Regions from separate parts of the Homo sapiens genome. Here region 2 is linked to region 1. Evidence: promoter capture Hi-C in human tissues and cell types (Jung and others, 2019). All regions are on one chromosome and are shown on one strand. Each heading gives the region's core, a stretch centred on a gene start or on the middle of the fragment in contact. The rest is flanking DNA. Distances are from core to core; before and after follow the strand shown.

Region 1 (5,962 bases), core at 1,223-3,722:
CAGCAGGACGAGTCAGTTCTATCTGTCCAATTTCCTATCCTGTCTCGGGTCAGTGCGGAGGAGCAGTCTGAAACCAAACATTCTTCAAATTCCAGAAGGGGATGTATATGGCAAGCCAACCTCAACAAAGGCGGCTGGACAGATCCCACGAAGTTAGGGCACCAGGAACCCTCAAACGGAAAACTACAAGTAGAGAATACCCATCTACAGCACCACTATCCCAATCTACCAGACATGTGCCAACTGCCCCCACAGGAATCCCATCATGACTCAGTCCTGGCCTTTTGAATGGTAGATATCACAACTCATCAGCTCAGAGTTCAAGGACAAGCTAACATTAAGTCTCCAAGAACTGAACATACTCACTGGCACCAGGGAAACATCACTAATTTACAATTAGGTGAGAAGACAATTTCTTTTTCTTCCACGTTTAGTTTACATAAAGCAATTCCTTGCTGAAAGGCCAAAAAGCTGAGAGAATGAAAGGGAAGAGGATGGGCAGCTCCTCCCAAGGAAGTCACAGTCCCCAGGTTCTGCTATTTTTTTTTTTTTTTTTTTTGAGACAGAGTTTTACTCTTGTTGCCCAGGCTGGAATTACAGGCATGTGCCACCATGCCCAGCTATTTTTTTTGTATTTTTATTAGAGACGGGGTTTCTCCACGTTGATCAGGCTGGTCTCTTTTTTTTTTTTTTTTTGAGACGGAGTCTCGATCTGTCACCCAGGCTGGAGTGCAGTGGCGCGATCTCGGCTCACTGTAAGCTCCGCCTCCCGGGTTCACACATTCTCCTGCCTCAGCCTCCCGAGTAGCTGGGACTACAGGCGCCCGCCACCACATCCGGCTAATTTTTTTGTATTTTTAGTAGAGACGGGGTTTCACCATGTTAGCCAGGATGGTCTCGCTCTCCTGAGCTTGTGATCCGCCTGCCTCGGTCTCCCAAAGTGCTGGGATTACAGGCGTGAGCCACTGCGCCCAGCCTTTATTTTATTTTATTTTATTTTTGAGACAAAGTCTCACTCTGTTGCCCAGGCTGGAGTACAGTGGTGTGATCTCGGCTCACCACAACCTCCACCTCCCTGGTTCAAGTGATTCTCCTGCCTCAGCCTCCCAAGTAGCTGGAATTACAGGTGCCGGGCAACAAGCCCAGCTAATTTTTTGTGTTTTTAGTAGAGATGGCGTTTTATCATGTTGGCCAGGCTGGTCTTGAACTACTGACCTCATGATCCACCCGCCTCAGCCTCCCAAAGTGCTGGGATTACAGGCGTGAGCCACCGCACCCGGCCGTTTTTTTGTTTTTGTTTGTTTTTGTTTTTTTGTTTTTTTTGTTTTTTTTTGAGACAGGTTCTTGCTCTGTCACCCAGGCTGGAGTACAGTGGTACAATCACAGCTCACAGCAGTCTTCATCTCCTGGGCTCAGGCAATCCTCCCACCTCAGCCTCCCTAGTAGCTGGGACTGCAGCTGTGCACCACCATGCCTGGCTAATTTTTGTATTTTTTTGTAGAGACAAGGTCTCGCTACGTTACCCAAGCTGGTCTCGAACTGCTGGGCTCAAGCAATCCTCCTGCCACAGCCTCCCAAAGTCCTGGAATTACAGGCGTGAGCCACGGCACCCAGCCTTTTTTCCCCCCTCATATATAATTATTTCTCACAACCAATGTTTCTTCTTAGGGGAAATAGCCCTGAGACTGGGGCTGTACCTTACACAGCTCTGGGTGCTGATACGCACCCCATGTCAAGCGGGAAAGATACCTGGGCACATGCTCCGAGGTGTAGGGTACAAGGACCACCTTCTTCCCCAGCAGCAAGGTGTTCTGATTCAACCTCATGGTAGCAGCCTGCATGCAGATGGGGAGAGCAAAGACTTCAGGACCCTGAATTTCCTCCAACTTTGGGTAGGCGCTCCAGCTTTCCTGCTGGGGCTAAGTTGACTTCCGTCATTAGTTCCGTCTAGACACTTCAAAGAATACAGACTCCAAAATTCTTGCAAGAAAGAGAACCAGGCTGGTTAAGGATAATTAAACAATCCTTGACTCCCACTCCAAGAGGCCAAGCCTGGGCTCCGTTTCTGCCGGTTCCTTCCGTCCACTCCCCAGAACTTCGATTCCTCAAACCCAAGCACCAAGTACCAAGTACCAAAGTATCCCCAGAGCTCCCATTACTTGCCCCAGTCCAGGGATTCCAACCCAGAATCAACTTTCAGCCCTGCCTTAAACCTACTTCCAACCTCTTACCCCGGCGACCACCCCACGGGGCTCTAGCCACTCCCTCCCCGCCCCCGACCACTTCAGGGCAAGGCGGGCTTAGTCTTAGGCCCTCCCCTTTGAGTGGCGTTCTAGACCACTCTCTTCGACCCTCCAACCACGCGGACCCGGGTACTGCCAAGCTCACACCCACCTACCACCGACGAAATCGTCCCCCGCAGAAAGGGTGATCTACCTCCTCCAACCAGCCACGTTCCCAGGCCCGGCCGGCTACCGCCCCTTCCGCATGCGCGTGAGAACGCGCCCCGCCCACTTCCGCCATGCTGACGGCAGCCGCCAGGCCCCAATCCCGGTCCCGCCCCCGCGAGGCGCCCAATCAGCGCGCGCGAAAAAGGTGGGCTGTGGGGCCGGCGCATGCGCGCTGCGGAAGCTGGTGCTGGACAGCTGGCGCCGGCAGCAGCGGACCGGCGGGAGACGGCGGCTTGGGAGCTGGCTGTGCTGCAGGTGTTGGGTCGGGTCGGGTCGGGACGGGCGGGAGAGGACGAGACGGGTCGGGATAGGTTGGGGCGGGGCGGGGCGGCACTAGACTCGGGACTCCTCCAGGAGGGAGAGAGAGGGAGAGGCTGGGAGTGGGGTTCTTGAGAAAAGAGGGAGCTTTGAGGGTGGGGAACCCTAAGAGAGTAGGTGGGGCCAGGGAGTGGAGGCCCCATTAAAAAAAGGAGGCCTTAGTGCCAAGAGTGGAGTTGGAAGGGCAATGTAGGAAAGCCCCCAGCTCCCTGCCCTAGGCAGAGGCGGCAGACAGTTCCTTGGGCTCCCATGTGTGGTAGTGAGCTCCTGGTTCCTGGAACTAAACGAGGATAACCACCCCAGAGCGTGGAAAGGGGGCTCTTGTGGTGGGTGAGACTTAGTGGTTTTAGAGGCCCCTTAAATCACTTGCACCCCGAGCAGCATTGAAAACATCCGTGCTGGGCACAGAGCAGTGCCCTGCACAGCAAGGGAAATGTTAGAAGAAACCGTCCAGATTTCTGTCATCCAGGGTGACCCCTCCCTCGGGGGTGAGTCTTGTGACAGATACTGAGGCCCTAAGTGTCTGTGATAAAAGAACCAGAGGTGGCAGGGGAAGTCTGCAAGCCTCCTCCCACCCCTGTCTCAGTCCATCAGATAGGTGAAGCCTGCTCTTTTGTTTTAAGGAGCTGCGGCAGCCGCCGTCCTTGCACCTAAGGAACCTCTGCTGCCAGCCCTTCCTCACTTTTGGAAATGGCGGGTGAAATTACAGAGACCGGGGAACTCTACTCTTCCTACGTGAGTGTGACTTATAGAACCTTTTGCTCACTTAAGTGTTCCTGGCTTCTAGAAAAGCACATTGCTTGCTGGAGATGGGACTAGTGAGTGCTGCTGCTTGAGCAGACCATAGTGGAAGCAGGATGGGGGAGTTCCATGGGGCAGCGACTACAGTGCTGCTGTGGTGGCTCAGAATGTAAGTCAGATTTATTCTCTTTTTAAGGTGTTTGTCAGAGTGGTCAAGCCAAACAAAATCGCCATGCTGTTTATAATGTTAATCCCGGGCTGGGCACGGTGGCTCACGCCTGTAATCCCAGCACTTTGGGAGGCTGAAGCGGGCAGATCACCTGAGGTCAGGAGTTCAAGACCAGCCTGGCCAACATGGTAAAACCCTGTCTCTACTAAAAATACAAAATTAGCCGGGCATGGTGGCACTGTAATCCCAGCTACTCGGGAGGCTGAGGCAGGAGAATCGCTTGAACCCGGGAGGCGGACGTTGCAGTGAGCTGAGATCGAGCCGTTGCACTCCAGCCTGGGCAAAAAGAGCGAAACTCTGTCTCAAAAATAAAGAAATAATGTTCATCTCCAGGCTACCACACTTGCCTGCAGTGCTGCCCTTCAGATGAACAGTGATTGACAGCTGTTGACTCTGGGTTTTGCTCATCTCAGCAGTTGGAAACCGCTTTGGTCTTTACTGAATTTTAAATTGCACAACTTTTATAGTCTTGGATGGCGTAAGAAGCAGCGAAAGCATACAGAGACTTCTAATTACAGTTTGGTGGACTCTGCAATTAGAACAATTAGAATGATTGATTCTCACTGTCTTAGGTCTGTGTTACCTCTGGCTGCCCCCAACACACACGCAGTTTATCTTCTCTATGTAACGTATGATTGGTCATAGTTGTTACATCACAGGGCCCTCTTGCCTGGATAAGTAGCCAGAGGGTTGGAATAATCAGATGGTTGACTCAGGTTGCTACCAACCCTCCCAGGCAAAAGCAGCACTGCCCTAAGTAGCAAGAGTTTTCTAGAACTTGACCTGCCTTCAACAGCTGCCCTGCCTTGTACATAGCTTCCTAGCCTGGGGATCTCTGGTCTGTTTCTGCTAGCTTCACAGACTAGCATTGTGGTGTGATGGACAAGGAAGTGTCTCCAAGACATTTCCTTCACAGCTGGAAGAAAGCCTTCCTGATTCCAGAGTCTTCCTATTGGGCCTGTGCCATTCATGTGTGGCAATAAAGGAGCCTTCTTCACCCATCACCTGTGTAATTTCTCAGGGGAAGTCTTTTTTTTTTTTTTTTTTTTTTTTTTGAGACAGAGTTCCACTCTTGTTGCCCAGGCTGGAGTGCAATGGTGCAATCTCGGCTCACTGCAACCTCTGCCTCCCAGGTTCAACCTCTGCCTCCCAGGTTCAAGCAATTCTCCTGCCCCACCCTCCCAAGTAGCTGGGACTACAGGCATGCACCACCCTGCCCAGCTAATTTTTTGTATTTAGTAGAGACAGGGTTTCACCATGTTGGTCATGCTGGTCTTGAACTCCTGACCTCAGGTGATCCACCCGCCTCAGCCTCCCAAAGTGCTGGGATTACAGCCGTGAGCCACTGCACCCAGCCTCTCAGGTGAAGTCTTTCATGAACCCTGGAATGGAATAAATAGTGTCCCTCTCATTTGTGGAATTATGTAACAGCTCCTAGCCTCCTGCTGTCAGTGATGAAATCTCTATGCTGTCTATTAATGTAAAAGTCACCACGGCTCCTGCTTTTTCTTACAACATCTGTAAATTTAGAGATAAGGAGATGAGTCATCCCTGTAACTAAGTTTTGTAAGGAAAACACTTGGATATGTCCCCATTTCTTGTATCTCCGGTTGTTTAAGGGGTCCTCTCACATGTCAGCATGTGCCCACAGGAAATGAGGCAGTTAGGCCTGCAAGCTTCAGTGCGCTCTGCCCGTTTTTGTTCTCCATCTCCTCTGTGTTTTATTTCGTTCAGGGTCTTTGTTGCCCAGAGGGCCAGCTCTGGGCATTGGCCATAAACAAGTGCTTGTGTTGTTTTATCCTACTGGTGAAGAGAGATGTAGGGAGGAGATGGGGTGGGATGGGGAGGGGATGATGTGACATCAAACAGGAGGTGTAGTGGTCAGTGTTCTGAGGGGAGAAGACACCTTCTTCCTAAGGGTTCCTTAACTCCCCCGTCCTGGAACAATTCTTGGTCCTCTGTAAGACCAGAAGAGTTGGTTGTCACTGAACCCAGATAAGCTGTGGAACTAACTCACTGCTGATGCTGGCTGCTCTGAGTTCCCCTGCAGGCCCCAGCTCAAGACAACGTGGGCAGAGCTCTGCCCTGGCTGCCTTGGGAAACCAAGACACGGGGCAGGTCATTCATACGTGTGCTTCAGCCCACGCGCATTTACAAGACAAAGCCTCTCCTTAGCTCTCTATTGCCCCATTCATTTTGAGTTCTTTTCCCCTTCAGGAGTTCC
Region 2 (5,962 bases), core at 1,976-4,475, 250 kb after region 1:
CCCATGCTCCCTTCTCCCTTTCCTCCACAGTGAATTCCAAGGCAGAAGTCAGGTTCCATTTGGCAACTGCCGAGTGGATCGCGGAGCCCGTGCGGCAGAAGATAGCCATCACGGTAACCACCATCCCTTTCTTTCCCTAGAAATCCCTCAGTGGCTTTTAAACCTTTACTCTGTAGGACTCCAGTTTTTCATTTGTTCTCTGCAGCATAAAAACAAGATCAACAGGTTAGGAGAGTTGATCCTCACCTCTGAGAGCAGCCGCTATCAGTTCCGGAATCTGGCAGATTGCCTGCAGAAAATTCGAGACATGATCACTGAGGCCAGCCAGACACCGAAGGAGCCAACAAAAGAAGATGTTAAACTTCATAGAATCAGGTACCAGGAAATGCCCTAAGATGCTATAAACTGATTTGTGTGGACAAGAGTCTACACAGGTAAGGAAGGGGCAGGGGAGAGTCCAAGGCCGGCCTTGGGAGAAACTCTAGGAAGAGGAGAGGATGCTGACCTGGGACCGAGGCCTGCGGGCTAGTGCCTGCTGGTGTAACTGCTCGGCTTCCCGTTGAGCTCCCAACTCCTCTCACCACTTTGAAAAGCACTGATTGGGCATCTGGGGCTAATTGCAGTCTTTTTGTTTTCAGGATAGAAAACATGAATCGGGAAAGGCTGAGACAAAAGAGAATTCATTCTGCTGTAAAGACAAGCAGGAGGGTCGACATGGACTGAAATCACCCTCTGCAGCTGGGAGGGCTCTTCTGGGCGTCCGGGCAGCTGCAGCTGAGAGGACTTTCACACCATAAGGAGATTTCTGTTTTTCTTTTTGGCTGTTAATGCTTGTCTATAACATTGGAGCCATCACAAGAATGTTCATTTGGAATGAAGGCTGCAGGCACTGGTTGCAGACGTCTTTATAGGCAGTCACCATGTTGTCAAACCTTAATAATGCACCTCATGTATTAGTCACAATAAAAATCAGAACTCATTAGGCTTCCCTTCTCATTCAGAATGCTTCAGAAAACAATTCCTACCTTTTCTCTCAGTTAAATCAGCCGCACAGTTATCGACACAGCACTGGGGAACAGGAAAGGGTTCTGGTGTCTGCTGTGAAAGAACACACAGGCCAGGCGTGGTGGCTCACGCCTGTAATCCAAACACTTTGGAAGCCAAGGCAGGAGGATCACACGAGGTCAGGAGGTCAAAACCAGCCTGAGCAACATAGCAAGATCTCATCTCTACAAGAACTACAAAAATTAGCCAGGTGTGGTGATACATGTCCATAGTCCCAGCAACTTGGGAGGCTGAGGCAGGAGGATCACTTGAGCCCCCCAGGAGTTCAAGGTTGCAGTGAACCATAATTGCACCACTGCAGCCTGAGTGACAGAGCAAGACCGTGTCTCAAAAAAAAAAAAAAACCACCGGGCGTGGTGGCTCACACCTGTAATCCCAGCACTTTGGGAGGCTGAGGTGACCAGCCTGGCCAACGTGGTGAAACCCTATCTCTACTAAAATAGGTGGTGGGCACCTGTAATCCCAGCTACTCGGGCCGAGGCAGGAGAATTGCTTGAACCCAGGAGGGTGACGTTGCAGTAAGCCAAAATCACACCACTGCACTCCAGCCTGGGCAACAGAGCCAGACTCCGTCTCAAAAACAAAACAAAAAGAAACTACACACACAACCAGGTAGGAGGGCTGAGACAGGTAAGTGGGCATTTGAGCCGGGCTATGGAAAAGGCATGGGACTTTCATCAGTAGACGGGAGGCGGACATGCCATTTGAAGGGAACAATGAACACAAGAGACAAAAGAGGCTGAGGTGGAGGGGGTGACAAAGAAGGCAAAGGCACTGAATGGTGGATTCGTGCAGGGTGATCCACCATTGCAGCGGGAGGTGAACCCAGAGAGAGACCGGCTTGATGTGGAGAGCCTTGAATTCAAGTTAAGGAGTTTAGGTTCTTTTATTTTTGAGATGGAGTCTCACTCTGCCATCCAGGCTGGAGTGCAATAGCGTGATCTTGGCTCACTGCAACCTCCTTCGCCCAGGTTAAAGCGATTCTCCTGCCTCAGCTTCCCCAGTAGCTGGGGTTACAGGTGCATGCCACCATGCACAGCTAATTTTTGTATTTTTGTAGAGATGGGGTTTCACCATGTTGGCTGGGCTGCTCTTGAACTCCTGACCTCAGGTGATCCGCCCACTTCGGCCTCCCAAAGTGCTGGTATCACAGGCGTGAGCCACTGCACCCGGCAAAGGTTTTAAGAGATGTGGGTAACAGAAAGCTGTTGGGAGAAAAGCTGAGCGTTGGGAGAAAAGCTGAGTGTTGGGAGAGAAGCTGAGGCAGGGCTTGCATGTCTGCTAGACTTGCTGGCTCCTTGCTTCTAGCACTCCCATTCTCTCAAGCAGCCGTATGTTTCTCCTTCACTTGATACACTTTCTTTTCAACCCCCACATCCTCACCACCTGTTTCTTTGAGCACCAATAAATACCGTGGGCTCCCAGAGCTGGGGGTCTTCACAGCCTCAACACTGGCGATGGCTTCCTGGTGCTACTTTCTCTCTCAAACTGTCTTTTTCTAATTCCTTTGACTCCGCCGGACTTTGTTGCCCCCATGACCTGGTGTTGGGTCTGATCACCTCAACATTCCTGGCTGCCCAACGTGGGGTGACAAAGACCCTGGTGAAGGAACGCTAGAGCGTGTGAAAGCGGAGAACACATCGTCAAAGGACACCCAAAGGCGTCTAAAAGAAGCTCGGCAGGAAAGCTGAGCGCTCGGAAGAACCAGGGTAACAATGGGATAAAGTGAAAGACATTTTGCTTATTTAAATTTATTTTATTATTTTTTTTTTTTTGAGAGGAGTCTTGCTCTGTCGCCCAGGCTGGAGTGCAGCGGCGCGATCTCGGCTCACTGCAAGCTCTGCCTCCTGGGTTCAGGCCATTCTCCTGCCTCAGCCTCCCGAGTAGCTGGGACTACAGGCACCCGCCACCGCGCCCGGCTAATTTTTTGTATTTTTTTTTTTTAGTAGAGACGAGGTTTCACCGTGTTAGCCAGGACGGTCTCGATCTCCTGACCTCGTGATCCGCCCGCCTCGGCCTCCCAAAGTGCTGGGATTACAGGTGTGAGCCACCGCGCCCGGCCTTATTTAAATTTCTTAAGGCATTTATTACGAAGAGGGGGAGTGAAAGTACTCAGAATTTGTTGGCATTTATTATGAAGAGGGGGAGTGAAAGTTAGTACTCAGAATTTGTTATCACTCTTTAGTACAGTAAAGCAGTTTTGCCCATGGCTTCCGGAACAAGCGACTATGGAGTTGGATGAATGGGAGAGAATCGGCAGAGATTTTTAAAAGGCGTATAAAGAGGGAGCAGATATTCCAGTTTCTATTTGGTCATGTGGGCGCTAATAAAGGCAGCTCTTGAGCCATTTCAAACAGATGATGAGGCAGATTGAGATGAGGAAGAGGAGGATGAGTGTAAAAAACTAACTTCAGATTCTGAGTGTGAGGAACAGCTACCGGAGGAGATTAAAGAAAGGAAAACTAAAAAAAGTATGTTTTACTAGCCCGTCGGCGCCCCCTGCTAAATTAAGTGAATGGCCACCTCCTCTCTCTCCTCTTAATGGGTGAGAAGATGAATTAGCTGAAAAACTTACTACTCCTATAGTTGCAATATTAAAACCTGGAGCAATTGGTGATGCTATAGAAAATTCTATTCATAAAGCTAGAGCCGAGGGAGACCTTGAAGCATGGCAATTTCCTGTTACTATCATCCAGCAGAGAAGACAGAATACAGCTAATTGGCCACTTTTCCTTTTAAGTTACTAAAGGAATTTAAGCAAGCCATTAGTCAATACGGACCGAACTCTCCTTTTGTGCAAACTCTATTAAAAAATATGGCTCTTGATAATAGATTAATACCATGTGGCTGGGATACTTTGACAAAATCTGTTCTCACCCTATCTCAGTATTTGCAGTTTAAAACCTGGTGGGCTGATGAAGCTCAAACTCAGGCAGGGGAAAACATACAAGCACAGCCACCTGTGCCTGTTTCCTTTGAACAGTTAATGGGAGTTGGCCCTAACTGGGGTTGATTAGAGAAATCAAGCAGTAATGGAGGATGCTGCCATTGTTCAGCTGCGCTTTGTGTGCTTATGGGCATGGGAAAGGATAAATGTTACAGGCGAAAAACATCCTTCTGTCAGTTCTATCCGTCAAGGACCTAAAGAACCATATATTGATTTTATTGCTCAGCTCCAAGAGGCTGTGTATAAAGCCATTACTAATAAAACGGCTCAGGATGTTGTAATACAGCTTCCTGCATACGAAAATGCTAGTGCAGTGTCAAACTGCTATTAGACCCCTGAGAGGGACGGCTCATTTAGCTAAATATATTAAGGATTGCGATGGCATTGGAGGTAACTTACATAAGGCAACTCTTTTAGCTCAGGCTATGGCTGGATTAAGAGTAGGAAAGAATATACCCCATTTCTCAGGCCCTTGCTTTAATTGTGGTCAATTTGGACACCCAAGAAAGGAATGTAGAAAAGGAAATCAAAAGGCAAACATTACTACCATCAGTCAACAGAAAAGTCCCGGTATATGTCTCCAGTGTAAGAAAAGCAAACACTGGGCAAGTCAGTGTCATTCTAAATTTAACAAGGATGGACAACCTCTTTCAGGAAACGGGAAGAGAGGCCTGCCTCGAGCCCCTCAACAAACCAAGGCACAGCCATGCCCTTACAAACGTGCAACAATTGTCCCCCACTTCAGCAGGCAGTGCTGCCATAGACCTCTACAGCACAATTACCATCTCCTTAGGAGAGGTGAAGCCGACTGGGCTTCTGGGTCGGGTGGGGACTTGGGTAACTTTTCTGTCTACCTAAGGATTGTAAACACATCAATCAGCACTCTGTCTAGCTAAAGGTTTGTAAACGCACCAATCAGCACTGTGTAAAAACGGACCAATCACCTCTCTGTAAAATGGACCAATCAGCAGGATGTGGGTGGGGCCAAGTAAGGGAATAAAAGCTGGCCACCCAAGCCGCAGTGGCAATCCGCTGGGGTGCTGTTTCATGCTGTGGAAGCTTTGTTCTTTTGCTCTTCACAATAAATTTTGCTGCTGCTTCCTCTGGGTCTGCACTACCTTTATGAGCTGTAACACTCACCGTGAGGGTCTGTGGCTTCATTCCTGAAGTCAGCAAGGCCACGAACCCATCAGGAGGAACCAACAACTCCAGACGTGCCCCTTTAAGAGCTGTAACACTGCAAAGTTCTGTGGCTTCACTCCTGAAGTCAAGCGAGACCACAAACCCACCGGAAGGAAGAAACTCCAGACACATCTGAACATCTGAAGGAACAAACTCCGGACACACCATCTTTAAGAGCTATAACACTTACCATGAGGGTCCGCGGCTTCATTCTTGAAGTCAGCAAGACCAAGAACCCACCAGAAGGAACCAATTCCGGACACACTTCCTGGGGAGCCACCAAAGAAGGTCCCCATGGGAGTTAGGAGACCCTTATCCTCAGGAACAGTCGGTCTATTACTTGGAAGGTCTAGTCTAAATTTAAAAGGTGTGCCAGGTGTGGTAGCTCACGACTGTAATCCCAGCACTCTGGGAGGCCAAGGCAGGCAGATCATGAGGTCAGGAGATTGAGACCATCCTGGCTAATATGGTGAAACCTCGTCTCTACTAAAAAATACAAAAACTAATAGCCAGGTGTTGTGGTGGGCGCCTATAATCCCAGCTACTTGGGAGGTTGAGACAAGAGAATGGCATGAACCCGGGAGGCGGAGCTTGCAGTGAGCCAAGATCGTGCCACTGCACTCCAGCCTGAGTGACAGAGTGAGACTCCATCTCAACAAAAAAAATTAAAAGGTGTTACTATACATACAGGAATAATTGACTCTGATTATACTGGAGAAATTCAATTTGTTATTAGTTCCTTGACTCTGTGGTCTGCCTCCCCAGGAG

Evidence for each region. The method cuts DNA at HindIII sites, captures the fragments that hold promoters and counts their contacts. A contact is called where the count stands out against the background at its distance.
Region 2: a contact is called between a fragment that was not itself captured here and the fragment with the promoter of NAT9 in region 1, in 1 of the 25 tissues and cell types used here (hippocampus).

What each region holds. Positions count from the first base shown.
Region 1 is chr17:74,773,873-74,779,834 of GRCh38, forward strand. It overlaps NAT9 (N-acetyltransferase 9), which reads right to left and starts at 2,473. Exons shown (of 7, transcript NM_015654.5): 1 at 2,395-2,473; 2 at 1,750-1,835. The coding sequence starts at 1,826. SLC38A12 (solute carrier family 38 member 12) reads left to right here and starts at 2,627. Exons shown (of 10, transcript NM_017728.4): 1 at 2,627-2,705; 2 at 3,392-3,503. The coding sequence starts at 3,459. RefSeq lists an enhancer at 2,155-2,274. The HindIII fragment of the contact is 11,963 bases long and covers 1-5,962 here.
Region 2 is chr17:75,020,283-75,026,244 of GRCh38, forward strand. MRPL58 (mitochondrial ribosomal protein L58) reads left to right here. Exons shown (of 6, transcript NM_001545.3): 4 at 31-113; 5 at 206-375; 6 at 639-979. The coding sequence ends at 723. Among named protein-coding and RNA genes, the nearest start is that of MRPL58, 11 kb to the left of the region's middle. RefSeq lists an enhancer at 1-745 and a silencer at 4,909-5,066. The HindIII fragment of the contact is 7,781 bases long and covers 1-5,962 here.